Linked DNA regions of Homo sapiens: region 1 is linked to region 2. Evidence: promoter capture Hi-C in 16 types of primary human blood cells and fetal thymus (Javierre and others, 2016). All regions are on one chromosome and are shown on one strand. The core of a region is centred on a gene start or on the middle of the fragment in contact, and the rest is flanking DNA. Distances in the headings are between cores, read along the strand shown. Region 1 overlaps SGMS1 (sphingomyelin synthase 1). Region 2 holds the start of SGMS1 (sphingomyelin synthase 1).

Region 1 (6,012 bases), core at 1,812-4,311, 200 kb after region 2:
CTCACCTTGCTTTTGCCTGTGATGCCTCAAGTGCCATTTTTGTTACCTGCAAGTTAAACACTGCTGACTAATTCATTTGCTTGTTTATACTTGGAGTAGTTATTTAGAAAGTCAGTGCTTTTGTCATGGGCAATTTTAATAAAGTATTTAGTTGCATAGCAGGACAGACACAGCCTTTTGAGAACAGTGGTAGTGTTTTTTTCCCCATCTGTCATCAAAGCAGAAATATGCTAATGCTAATCAAAGGATACCAGTGAATGAATGTGTGTGCGGGTGGTAACGGCTCTTTTGACAGAGGCTTGCTCTAATGCAAATGTAAAACTTTTATATACCTATGATGTCATATAATGCAAATGCCATATAATAAATGTATACCTATGACAGTTCTAGGATTTATGAATTGTCTTGAAGAACTGTCCTTTGCTACCATTATGGTTAGGAGCACCTGTTGGTAAATAGATGTTTGTGGTTGAGAGTGATGTTTACATTTAAGGAGGAATTGGTACTTTGGCAAGATTATCAAATATGTATCTATGTGTTCCTTACTTGAAAGGGAAGATCGAATGACTTGTTGCTTCTGTTCTCCACAGTGGATTCGTGTTTGGGGAACTGGGATTTTACATGAAAACTCTGTTTTGTAAACTCCACTTCCTTTTAGGAAGTATCAGATTTGCTGTCTCAGTAGCATTCTGTATTGTTGGAACATGCCACAAAGAGCACAGAAACGCATCTGCTGCTTGGGTTCTGCTTGCCAACTGGTTTGAACAGCTATAATATTTGTTTATTCTTGATGTGTCAGCAGTCAAAGGGAACGTTTTCTTTTCTCCTTTGTGGCTGTTATATAACTTAAGCATCATTATATTCACAACAATGACTATTTATGCAGAATCTGCTAGGCCCTGGGGGATACAGATGCTCGGAAACACGTCTACCTCAGATGGATTTCCACTGTCTGCTGAGAGTGAAAGGTCAGGGATCTCAAAAAGAAGGAAGGATGCTAAGATCCTATGTTAGTTGTGAAATGGAAGTATAAAGAATAAGATCTGTAGGTATTTGGAGGAGAGGAGAGATTCCCCAGGGCTTTTGCCAGTGACAAAAGTTCTAGGAGAAGAAAGGGTTTCAGTGGTCTGGAATGGGATATGTACTAAAAAGAATGCAAGAAGGTTGTCAGGCAGGGGGCATGGTGTGAGCCTAGTGCTTTGAATGAAACTCTGTCACCTTAGCTGGTAACCACCCAGCAGCTGAGAGGCCTGGACTAAAGAGCACCAACATGGGAGCCACCTGCATGGGTCCCTTTGGGGCAGCCTCTCCACCAGGGATGAGCATGGCTCCCAACTACAATGTGAAAGTTAAGAATTTTTAGACCCTCGAGTGTACATGGCACACTCGGAGGCCCCCACCGTCTCCACTACATAGGCCAGGGAGCACAGGCAGAGATAAAGAGACCCATGGGCCACCATCTTATTAGGGTCCAGTGTGTTATCCAAATATGTTTCCTAAGGGGAGCTTTAATTGGTAGGTTTAAAGCAAGCAGGTGCTAGTTCCAGGAGGTCCTGTTGTGACTGAGAGGTGGTCAGTTTAAATTTGCAAGCAAATGTCTGAACGGTCTGTTTAAGGAAGTGGTGGGAAAGTGAGGAGCCCAGCCTGCTAGGCAGGACTTGGGTCTCTTCAGTTTTATTTCCTGCCACCAGTGGGAGCCATTCAGGTGGGGAATGGAATTTGAAACTGTCAAGGGTGACTGAGCCCTGATTCTGAGAAAGTTAAACCTATATTTAAAGTGGATGTCAAGGCAACATAAAATGGTAAGCACTCACTATCCCTAGGTATGGTGGTAGTAATGTGCCCTCAGCTTTAGGGGAACAAGGAGTGGACCAGCGGGTTATTTGGCAGAGGGTTTTTAAGATCGGGGTTGCAGAGGTAGAGGCAAGGCTTTGAGTGCCTATAAATGTCATGGCACTGGACCCGTAGTTTCACCGTCACTTTTTTTTGATAACTATATGTTGAGAATCCGTGTACTTTAAATTTTAATTTTAGACAACAAAGGCATCCTAGAACCAGTTATCCTGTTCTCTTGTGGGAATGTTCTAACCACATTGGTCATTGTGTTGTTCTTATTTCTGAAGCATAAGGATTATTGGAAACATCTTTCAAGTGCTTTGAGTTATGATTGCAGCCAAACATATTTATGAAGCCTTCCTTCTTCCTGGAGAGAACACCTACTCTGAATGTTAAGCTTGGCTGGATCCTAAACAATACTAACAAACTAGATCATCTCTCTTTCCTGTCTGTGCTGCCTTTCCCTTTCTCCATCATAGATCTCAAAGTATCTCTCTGTGTCCACACACACACAAACACAATTGTATTTTTTAGACTGCAGTGTTAAGTTTATGGAGTTGTTCATATACACTTAAGCTTTATGTAGTCTTCTCATGTAAAAGAGCTGCTGTCCTTGATATAATAGCCAACATATTATCAGTTCAGCCAGTATAGCTCATTGTAACAATTACATAAATATAAAATATCAGTGCTCTTAAAAATACACATTAATTTACATGAATGTTTGAGGAAAGCTGCCCGTAAAGCAAATTGTGTTCCTTTTGATCTCTACTATAAAATTATTTAATTGACTGAGAGGAAAAGGTTTATGACATGATGGCATGCTCGACTTTGACATTTGTCATGTGATGATGATGATGATGTGTTGAGAGGCATAGAGGGAGGGGCCCGCCTGCTGGAACAGCGGCTAGAAGACACTCAACCTCAGTGACTCAGGCAGAGGGGACGAATGCCTGAACCAGGAATGGAAAAAATGGTCCAGATATGAAAGAAGCCTTCATGTTACGCCTATTGGTAGTGAACCATTAAGAGAGAAAAGAGGGAGCTCAGATGATTCCAGAATTTAACTTGAAGTGTCTAGGAGAGTAACATTACCTTTATGAGGAATATGAGAGTCAAGAGAGATTTGACAGCTTCATCATCTAGGAGACAGGCCCAACTTAAGTACCTGTTGCTAAGGATAAATGTGAGGCTATAGGCCGATCTTGCTTCTGCTCTTTTGACCATAGTTTGGTTTCCAACTGGAAACACTCTTAGAGATCCTCAGAGAGAGATGAAGCAGTCAGTTCACCCTGTCACTTACTGGCAGAGCTGAGACTAGGAAGGGAGCTCTTGGCTTTTTGTGCAGTGTTCTTTCCACTCTCCCGTGCTGCTTTGGAGAAAAGAACAGCATTTTGCTGATCTCACTTTAGATCTTATCTTTGGCTAATGAGTATTTTCAAGAAACCTTGGCCTGTGGAATGACTCTAAACATGTATGAGAAAGATCTCCAAAGAGATCTTTGCTCAGGAGATCTCCAAAGCAAAGAACGTTTAATTTGTAACTTAACATTTTTTTCTTCCCATCTAGAAATTCTCTTTTGGCAATAGCAATCAACTCATTTCTTAATGGGACCTCAGGAATTAGCACTTCTGCAGCCCCCTGTAATTTGCCAATTCCCAAATAAAGTTTCTTTTAAGTATTTTTATTACAAAATAATGTTTAGGGCACAGTGACTCAGATGGAATATTTCCACAAATCACTCTTACTTTTTTAAAAGTAGGTTCACCTGTGACCTAAATGAAATCATTCCAATTTTAAGCCTATTTGCTACCAATAAACTTTCTATTGTATAGTAAGAATACCAAATTCAAGAATCCTGAACCTAAAGCTTCTTAAGTTTCTCACCACTTAAATGAGGGACTCAGACCAGGGAATACCAGAGAACTATTTCAGCTCTAAAATTCTTTAGATATTTAACATAGGAAAGAATTTTTGAAAATTACGAGCCAGTTTGTTTACAATTTTGGAGATTCGGATTCAGGACTCAGAGGGACAAGACAGCATTTTTTGAGTGCCTACTCTTTGTCCAGCACTGTGGTAAATGCTTTGCATGCATTGTTACATAATCAGTAGTTCCCCCCTTATCTTCAGATGGTATGTATGTTCCAAAGCCCCCAGTGGATGCCTGAAATCTCGATGGTCCTGAACCCTATATATACTATGATTTTTCCTATACATACCTATGGTGAAGTTTAACTTATAAATTAGGCACAGTAAGAGATTAACAGTAACTAATAATAAAATATAACAATTTTAACAATCTCAGAATGACATGAAATTTAAAATTTATGCATTGCTTATTTCTAGAATTTTCCATTTAATATTTTCAGACTGCAACTGAAGGGGCGGGGTAACGGACACAGCAGAAAGAGAAACTGCATATGGGGGGACTGTTGTAATCTGTAAACTGTTAGGTGGGCATTTTAGCCCCCTCATTGATGATAATTAACTTACTCAAGGCCACACAGTGTCAGAGGTCTGATCCAAATCTGCTTTGATACCAGGTCCCACCTCTTTGCACCCAGTATCTCTGCCTAACTCAAAAACTTTTACTAATCGAAACTAATGTACATCCACTGAAGTATCTTTCGTAAGATTAATCCTTGTTTCCCAAGCGTTTTCAAAGGCAACCTACCCTTTTCTAGAAGTTGTGTCGAAGTTGTCAAAGGCGTAAAGAAAAGGCTGTGAAAGGCTTCTAAGCTTGGTATAAATCAAGAAAGGAAAGTTCCGCCTTAACCGACACTGAACATGCTTATTGGTTAGGACTGAACGGGCTGACTCATTTCTTTTTTGCCGTGGTAGAGGGCCACACCCTGCATTCCAAAAACCCTCTGCTGCCGGGCCACACCCGCCAACCCCGCTCTTGGAGCCTCTGAGGTCCGGCTGGGCGTCTAGCTCGCAGTTGACCCCCCGGGAGAGGATCGGCGCATCCGGCCGCCCGCCAGCTCCAGACGCCGGGCTCCGCAGCGCCGCTGTCCTAGCACCAGGGCCCGGCAAGCAGGGGAACGGGACCGCCGGGACCGATCAAGGCGCGGGCGCCCAGCAAGAGCCGCGCCCGGGGTCTGCGCGCCGCTCAGCGCGCTCGCCTTTCCGCCCGCGCCAGGGCTGGCTGCGCGCACCCTGAGCGCGAGGAGCCGCGCGCAAACTTGGTGCCCCAGGAACTTTCCAGGAGACACTGCCTCCGGGGACGAGAGACCGTAAGTGTTGCTCCGGAGATGCTGTGGTTCATTAGAATACACTAACAGACGGTGTGAACCGATTAAAATACCGCAATCAGTGCCAATTCTACTACGGCGAAGTAAAGGGAAATCTTTATTTTTCCTGCATCCTGCTTTAATGATCAAATAGGCACTAGCTATTTACACCTGAGAAGGTTCAGTGCAGTTGCTGAAGCAGTGGGTCAGGATATGGGTAGGATCAGTCAACAAATGCTCTTTATATTGCGTGATGCTAACTGCCGTGGCATGAGAACCAAGGGTAGGGGGTGGTTTCTGTTTGGGGTTATCAAGTCTTCCTAATGGCAGTTTTTGAGAGAACGGGATTGTGTCTACAGATTGGTTATTAAGTTTTGGGGAAGTACTCACTTTCTCAAACTCCAGTCCCTGTACGAAACAGCCCTTTTGGCAACTCCTTTGGTTGGTTGGAAGCTGGCTTGTGAATGAGCTTGGTACTAAGTGCCACAAGGATGCACGTGCCCCTGTGTTTTGGACTGAGTGTGTTTACTCCATAACTGTGCTTTCTATTTAGTGTGGCCAGGTAATCGCTCTTGTGGAATTTGTCAATAAATACATGGAGAAGAATGCATGACATTTATTTTATTTTATTTTATTTTATTTTATTTTATTTTTGTGTTTGTTTTGTGTAGTTATACCAAAATAGGAAATCTGGAGACCTAAATTCTGTTACCCTGAATGCTACAAATATTTATCATAACATTTTTATCCAATTGAGTTACCGCTTTTAAATTTATGTAGAAATAAGTCCAGTGAGCCACTTAAAAAACCCGCTTTTCTACATAAGAAATTAGTGCAGTTGTATGATGCCAAGTAACTTATTTTCTTGCAAGAGTTTGGGGAAGTAGGGGACAGGGAAAGTGGAATCCTGTGACGACTGAGGATATACACAATGCAACAG
Region 2 (5,698 bases), core at 834-3,333:
AGAGAAAGCAGCCAGCAGTTTTCTGGCACTCCCTTAGTTTGAAAAAATTTACATCACAAGAAAGCAAGCCTTCCTTTCACCTTTTAGGTGCAAACTGATAAACATAACCAGTAGGGCTACTATACTTCACAGAGCCTTGCTCCCAGTAGATACTCAAAACATGCAGTTGAACTGAATTTCAGTTGTTATTTTAAAGCCGTGCTTGAAAAGCGTATGTGACAAATGTACTTTCCTAATCTTCCTGAGAAGAGCAGTACTGTGTCTTACGGGCGAAAAAACCAGAGGAGCCAGGAGTGGAGGGTGCAATAAAACGCCTGCATTGGGGCAGATTGCCTCATTTTGAATCCCTGACTCCTCACTGTGCTTTGGGGAAAACTATGGAAATTTTCACTGCCTAGCTTATTAAAATGGACTGCTTAGCTGAAATATAGAGGCGTCCATGACAACTACCCGGAGGGCTTTGTTAATCATATTGCAGGACTCCACCCGCAGTTTCTGGTTCTGTAGGTCTAGGTGGGGCCGAAAACGTGCATTTCTAACAAATTCTAGGGTGATAGTGACGCGGCAGGTCCCGAGACAACAGGAAACCCAAGGGACTCGAGGCAGGCGCTCAATAAATATTCACTATGAACCTCAGCACCATCGAAGCGGCCCACCAGCAGGGGCCGCGGGGTATGCGCTGCAGGGAAGAGCACGGCCTCTGTCCAATGTCCCTGCCGGTACATCACTCCTCTGCAGGGACTAGGTTAGAACCGGGAGGCAGCCAGAGCAGCGCTCTCGCTGGATAACGGAAGAGGACTCCCTCGCCAACTTCCGCCTCTGGGGAAAAGCGGGGACCCTCCGCCACCTGAGTTCTGTTGTCTCGATTTCGCCGCAGTTTGCTTCTGGCCCGGGCGAGAACCTGTCCTCTGGGCAAGCCAGGGGTCGGTACAGGACTCCTATACCCCAAGGCGAGGCGGAGGCAGGTGCCGAGCGGTGGCCAGAGTCCGGCGCCCAAAGCCCGATGGGAGGGCGTGGCGGGGGAGGACGGTCCCGCCAGCTCCCAGGTCGGTTCCGAGCGCCCGCGGCCCGATGGCCGGGCGGAAGATGGCTGCCCGGAGCGCCGCGGACAGTCACGTGGTACGCCGGGCCCGTAGCCGCGCCCCTTCCCCCGCTCGCCAAGTCCCCGACCCCGCGGGAGGCACGGCCTCGGGCTGCCTGTAGGCCACCGAGGTGCGGCGCGGGCCGGCCAGGGACGGCGGGCATCGGGGCGGGAAGGCCAGCTCTCCCCGCTGTCCATCCTAACTTGGGCGCTGGGGCTTCGCTCGGGGAGCAGAGGAAAACCTTCCTTCAGGCGACTTGCACCACGTGGGGCTACTGGGCATGCGCGGGCTCCGACCCCGGCCTAGCCGCTCTCCGGGTTTTCGCCGCAGCTCGGAGGGGCGGCGGAAGGTGGGCCCCAGGCGGGGCGGGGCGGCTCTGACGCAGTCGGAGTTTTCACCTCGCGCGGTTAGAGCTCTTGCGCCTCCGTCGCGCTCCCAGGCGTCGCCAGAGGCTTTTTTTTTCTGTTGTGGGAGAAAGATGAGAGTCTATGGTTAGAGGTTTGAAAATGGGCCGAATAGTCAGGTCGGCCGTTTCCTAGGAATGATCCATTGGGCATTAATCCCAAGTGTCGCAGCCCTTGGGCTTGGTGGGAAAAAGAATCCAGTAGTAGTTCGCAAACTCGTGCCTGGCTTCCAGCAGGCTGAGTTTGCGTTCCCTGCTTTGTGACCAGCTCTAGCGGCTCCCGTCTCCGGCCCTGCCCCAAGGGATTTACCGTCCCAGATTGTAAAATCTGGCTCCCGCTAGGCCTTACTTAGTGGGCCCCTAAAAACGCTGGGGAAAGCGCCCGCCTCCTCAGTTTCCCATTACTTGAAAGTAAAATTCAAGGGGCCCAAACTGCGACTGTCCCTTGGTTCGGGGTCCCGCTCGGTCCCGGGAGGAGCCCCCCGCGGACCCCGCCCGGCCGGCCCGCCCCCCCGGCCGCAGTGAACACCCGGAGGAGCGGAGTCGCGTCGCGCGGGAAGCCGGGCCGGCTCGGGCAGCGGACTGGGCATGCTCGGCAGCCCGGGAGGCTCGCGGTGGCAAGTCGAAAGCGTTCGCACCAGCGGGGCAGCGGCTGCGGGCGGCAGGCGGCGGGCAGGTCGGGAGTGAGAAGGACCGGCCTGGGCTGACTGCTCTCCCCTCGCGCCTAGGGAGCCGGTCGGAGAGCGCGATTGGGGTGCGGAGCCCCGACGCTGCCCTGCCCCGGATTTCATTCCGCGGCGGGGGCTCCGCGAGCGGAATTCCGGCGGCTGCCGTGACTCCAGTGCAAGTGAGTCGTGGGGCAGGGACAGACAGCCGGCCTCACGGTTGCGGGGGCCGATCGGACACCTGTCTCGCGGGCCCGGCCTTATGCCGGGGAGCAGCGGGCGGGCTGCTCTGGGGCGAGGGGGCGTGAGCGCAGCCCGCGCGGTGCCGCGCGCGTACCTGGCGGGCAGTCCTCCAGAGCTGCTGCTCCCGTGGGTGGTCACAGCGGGGAGGTCCGGCGGCCGGGATCCGGGCTCGGAGGGGGCGGGCCGCCGGCGGGGCTCCCCGGCTAAGTTGGGGCGGGGAGGAAGGAGGAGGCGTCAGTGGGCACCTTTTCAGAGCTACTGCGTGCGGGCTGGAAGGCTGCCTGGTGTCGGATTGGGGCGATCGGGAGGCGGGGAGCCTTTGGGCAGTAGCCCGCCCGGGGTCCGGAGACCCCCACCCAGGGGCCGACTCCAATCACGGCTCCACCCCCACAGCCTAGGTGGCGGTGTGACAGTTGGTACCTTCGGTCCAGATCGCAGCCGGCCAGGCGCCCACTATTTCGGGATCCCCCCACCGTAGCCCCTCGATGCCCCCTGACGACAAAACAGGTGGGACCCCCCCTCCCCGAGGAGCGCTCCCCTTCTCTCCAGGCCGCGTAACAGCCCGCCAGGCTCGCGGGCGGCTCTGAGACCCCGCAGGGCTGCCCCCGCGGGGCGGGGACGTTTAGGGGCAAGGCCTGGAGGGGAATCGGCGCAGCCCAGAACTGGACAGTCTCTCCAGGACGCCGCTTTTCCGTGACAGAGGGGGTCTGCGCTATCCCCCAGCGACGTGTCAAGGGCAAAACAGCAGCAGCAGCGGCTGCCTCTCCCACCGTCTTAACCCGAACTCGGGCTTGTGGCGTCCTCCCGTGGGCCGGATAGAGTGCCCTAGTCCAGCTAACGGATTCAGCCTGGAGCGTTCTGGTGAATGCTGCTTTCCTCTTTGGTGCCGCGAAGTAGAAATCGGGATAAGGGTTGTCATGGCCGGAGGGAGCGAAGAGAATCCAGGCAGGTGCTTCTCAGATGTTTCTTTTCACCTTCAAACAGTACAGACTTCAGCGGTACACGCTTACGAAACCAAGTGAAGGCTGCTTTCTGAAAGGGAAGTTTATTTTCTATGTTCTGGGGCCTGTCGACTATTTTAGCTCCCTTGACATTTATCTTCCTGGACCTTTAAAGCTGTTTGGACAGGTTATTTTGCTTTTAGGTTTGGGGATGTTTCTAGTTGGCTCCCTGGATGTGGAAGTGGCGAATGTCTGATGTGCTGTGCTGTGAACTCCCCACGCTTCCTGGCACTGGGGGTTGAAACATTCAGGGGGGACTGAGTGGGCCGAAGGAGAGGAGTGGGACTGGTGACGTAGGAACGCGATGGGTGTTGCCTAGAGCTGCCCAGATGGAAAGGGGTTGGCGGCTGTTTTGGCCTGTGCAGAAGGGGAGAGGGCGGGGCGTTTCATTGGTCGGGGTGTGAAACGTCCACGGGCGAAGGCTGCGGGGGATGGGTGCCTGTCTGGTCAGTGCTCCAAGGGAAGCCCAGGGATGTTTGGTGATTCAGCAGGTGGCAGCCTTCCAGCTCTGAAGACATGCCGTGGCCAAGCAAAGAAGCAAGCAAGCAAGCAAGCAGCAGCCTGTGCCTGCTGTCGGAGGCGCCAGCTTTGGGGGAACCTCCAGGTGCTGCCTTCTGCCTGTGGCAGCTCACTTGTCTTATCTTGCTTCCTGTTTAGCTCTGGAGGCCCTGGTATTTCGAGTTTCCTTACTGCGCCTCTTAAAATATACAGCAATATATAGCATGTTTTTGAGTCTCTGCATCTCTGTGACCTGCTGGGTAGCAGTGGGGTGGCTGCTGCCGCCATGCAGTTTTAAGTAGTTACTCTGCAGAAAGTGACAGTGATATGTAAAAACAGTGAAGTGGCCTTTCCTTCCATTTCTGCTTCACAGAATAGAAATTTATGTTTTTAGTAAAATAATAAGATACATTTCTGCAACTCTTCAGTGATGATAGTGAGCTATTTGAAATTTCCGGAAACTTTTTAATAAAAGACATTAACTCCAGAGATGTATTAAATTGACATCAGAGGGACACGGTTATTAAACCAGTATCTTACTCATTGGAAGATTTCTAGCATCTTGCACAGTGTCTAACTTGTATTCAATACATGCCTCTGCAGCTGAAATTTTAAAAATTCTTCATAACAGAAGAGTTTACCAGTATTTACCATGTTCATCATCTATTTTTAAGTCTGTATTAATATGGTTAGAGTAAAATATATGCATCAATACCTTTGCACATTGACATTTAAAGAATATTTATGTTTTCGTAAGACATGATTGCTGGGTTGACCATAAACATTCAATTTTAGCTTGAAAACTTGATTCTTTTACTTTTCTGGTTAAATTTATTAATTTTCAAACTTGGGGCAGATCCTACATTTCAGCTAGAGAAATGGTGTGCTTTGTTAACATACGTCATGAAAACCAAACGGACTCCTGACTCCTAAGTATAGCCATCAGTTTTTTTTTGTTTGTTTTTCTTTTGAGACAGGGTTTTATTCTGTCACCCAGGATGGAGTGCAGTGGTACAATCTCGGCTTACTGTAGCTTTGAACTCTCCAGGCTCAGGGGATTCTCTTACCTCAGCCTCCCGAGTAGCTGGGACTACACGCACGCACCACTAAGCCCAGCTACTTTTTTATAGAGATAGGGTTTTGTTATGTTGCCCAGGCTGGTCCCAAACTCCTGGGCTCAAGTAATCCTCTCACCTTGGCCTCTCAAAGTGCTGCGATTACAGGTGTGAGTCACTGCACCTAGCAGTATTATTATTATTATTTTTAACTAAAAAGTGCTCCTGTTGGATGTCAAATGCTTTAACTTAGAAAACTTCATTTTATACATAACATTTCAGGAAAACTCTGAAAAGTGCTGCTATAGAAAAGCTGAAAGAGTATTTTGGGAATAAAAATTCTGGATTGTTTGCACACAGGCATCAATGCCCTGGTCTTTAGGAGGGAGGCATGAGTGTGCTGCCAGTTCATTCTGCTCTTTACCATCACTGTCTGTTCCTTCCTCCAATTGTTTAGGTATTTCTTCTTCTCCTAAAGATGTACTTTCTTGGCATGAGCTTGCTTTTTAAAGCAATCCTGTCAGAAGAATCTGTTGCATTTTCTCACACAAATTTGATCAATGGTGATTTTTATTTTTTGATTGCCATATACACTTTCCCACCACTTCATATGGCAAACTATTCAGTGGCTCTTGTGTCCTTGTGGGGGCATAACATGTTATAGATGGCTATGCCTTTTTTGGATGGTAGCTATAGCCATAACAGTCTCTTCTGGAGGAACTTTTATGACATGCTGGTCTTCAAGATTTTT

What was found. The method cuts DNA at HindIII sites, captures the fragments that hold promoters and counts their contacts. A CHiCAGO score of 5 or more calls a contact.
Region 1: a contact is called between a fragment that was not itself captured here and the fragment with the promoter of SGMS1 in region 2, in 15 of 17 cell types (M0 macrophages, total B cells, erythroblasts and 12 more). The highest score is 15.8, in M0 macrophages.

Annotation. Positions count from the first base shown.
Region 1 is chr10:50,417,127-50,423,138 of GRCh38, reverse strand. All of the region lies in intron 6 of SGMS1 (sphingomyelin synthase 1), which reads left to right. Among named protein-coding and RNA genes, the nearest start is that of ASAH2, 170 kb to the right of the region's middle. RefSeq lists a silencer at 4,699-4,978. The HindIII fragment of the contact is 1,294 bases long and covers 2,415-3,708 here.
Region 2 is chr10:50,620,341-50,626,038 of GRCh38, reverse strand. It overlaps SGMS1 (sphingomyelin synthase 1), which reads left to right and starts at 2,083. Exons shown (of 11, transcript NM_147156.4): 1 at 2,083-2,332. It overlaps SGMS1-AS1 (SGMS1 antisense RNA 1), which reads right to left and starts at 1,088. Exons shown (of 4, transcript NR_126411.1): 1 at 848-1,088. RefSeq lists silencers at 916-1,545, 1,670-1,827, 1,876-2,135, 2,396-2,735 and enhancers at 1,686-2,214, 2,926-3,325, 3,876-4,035. The HindIII fragment of the contact is 12,791 bases long and covers 1-5,698 here.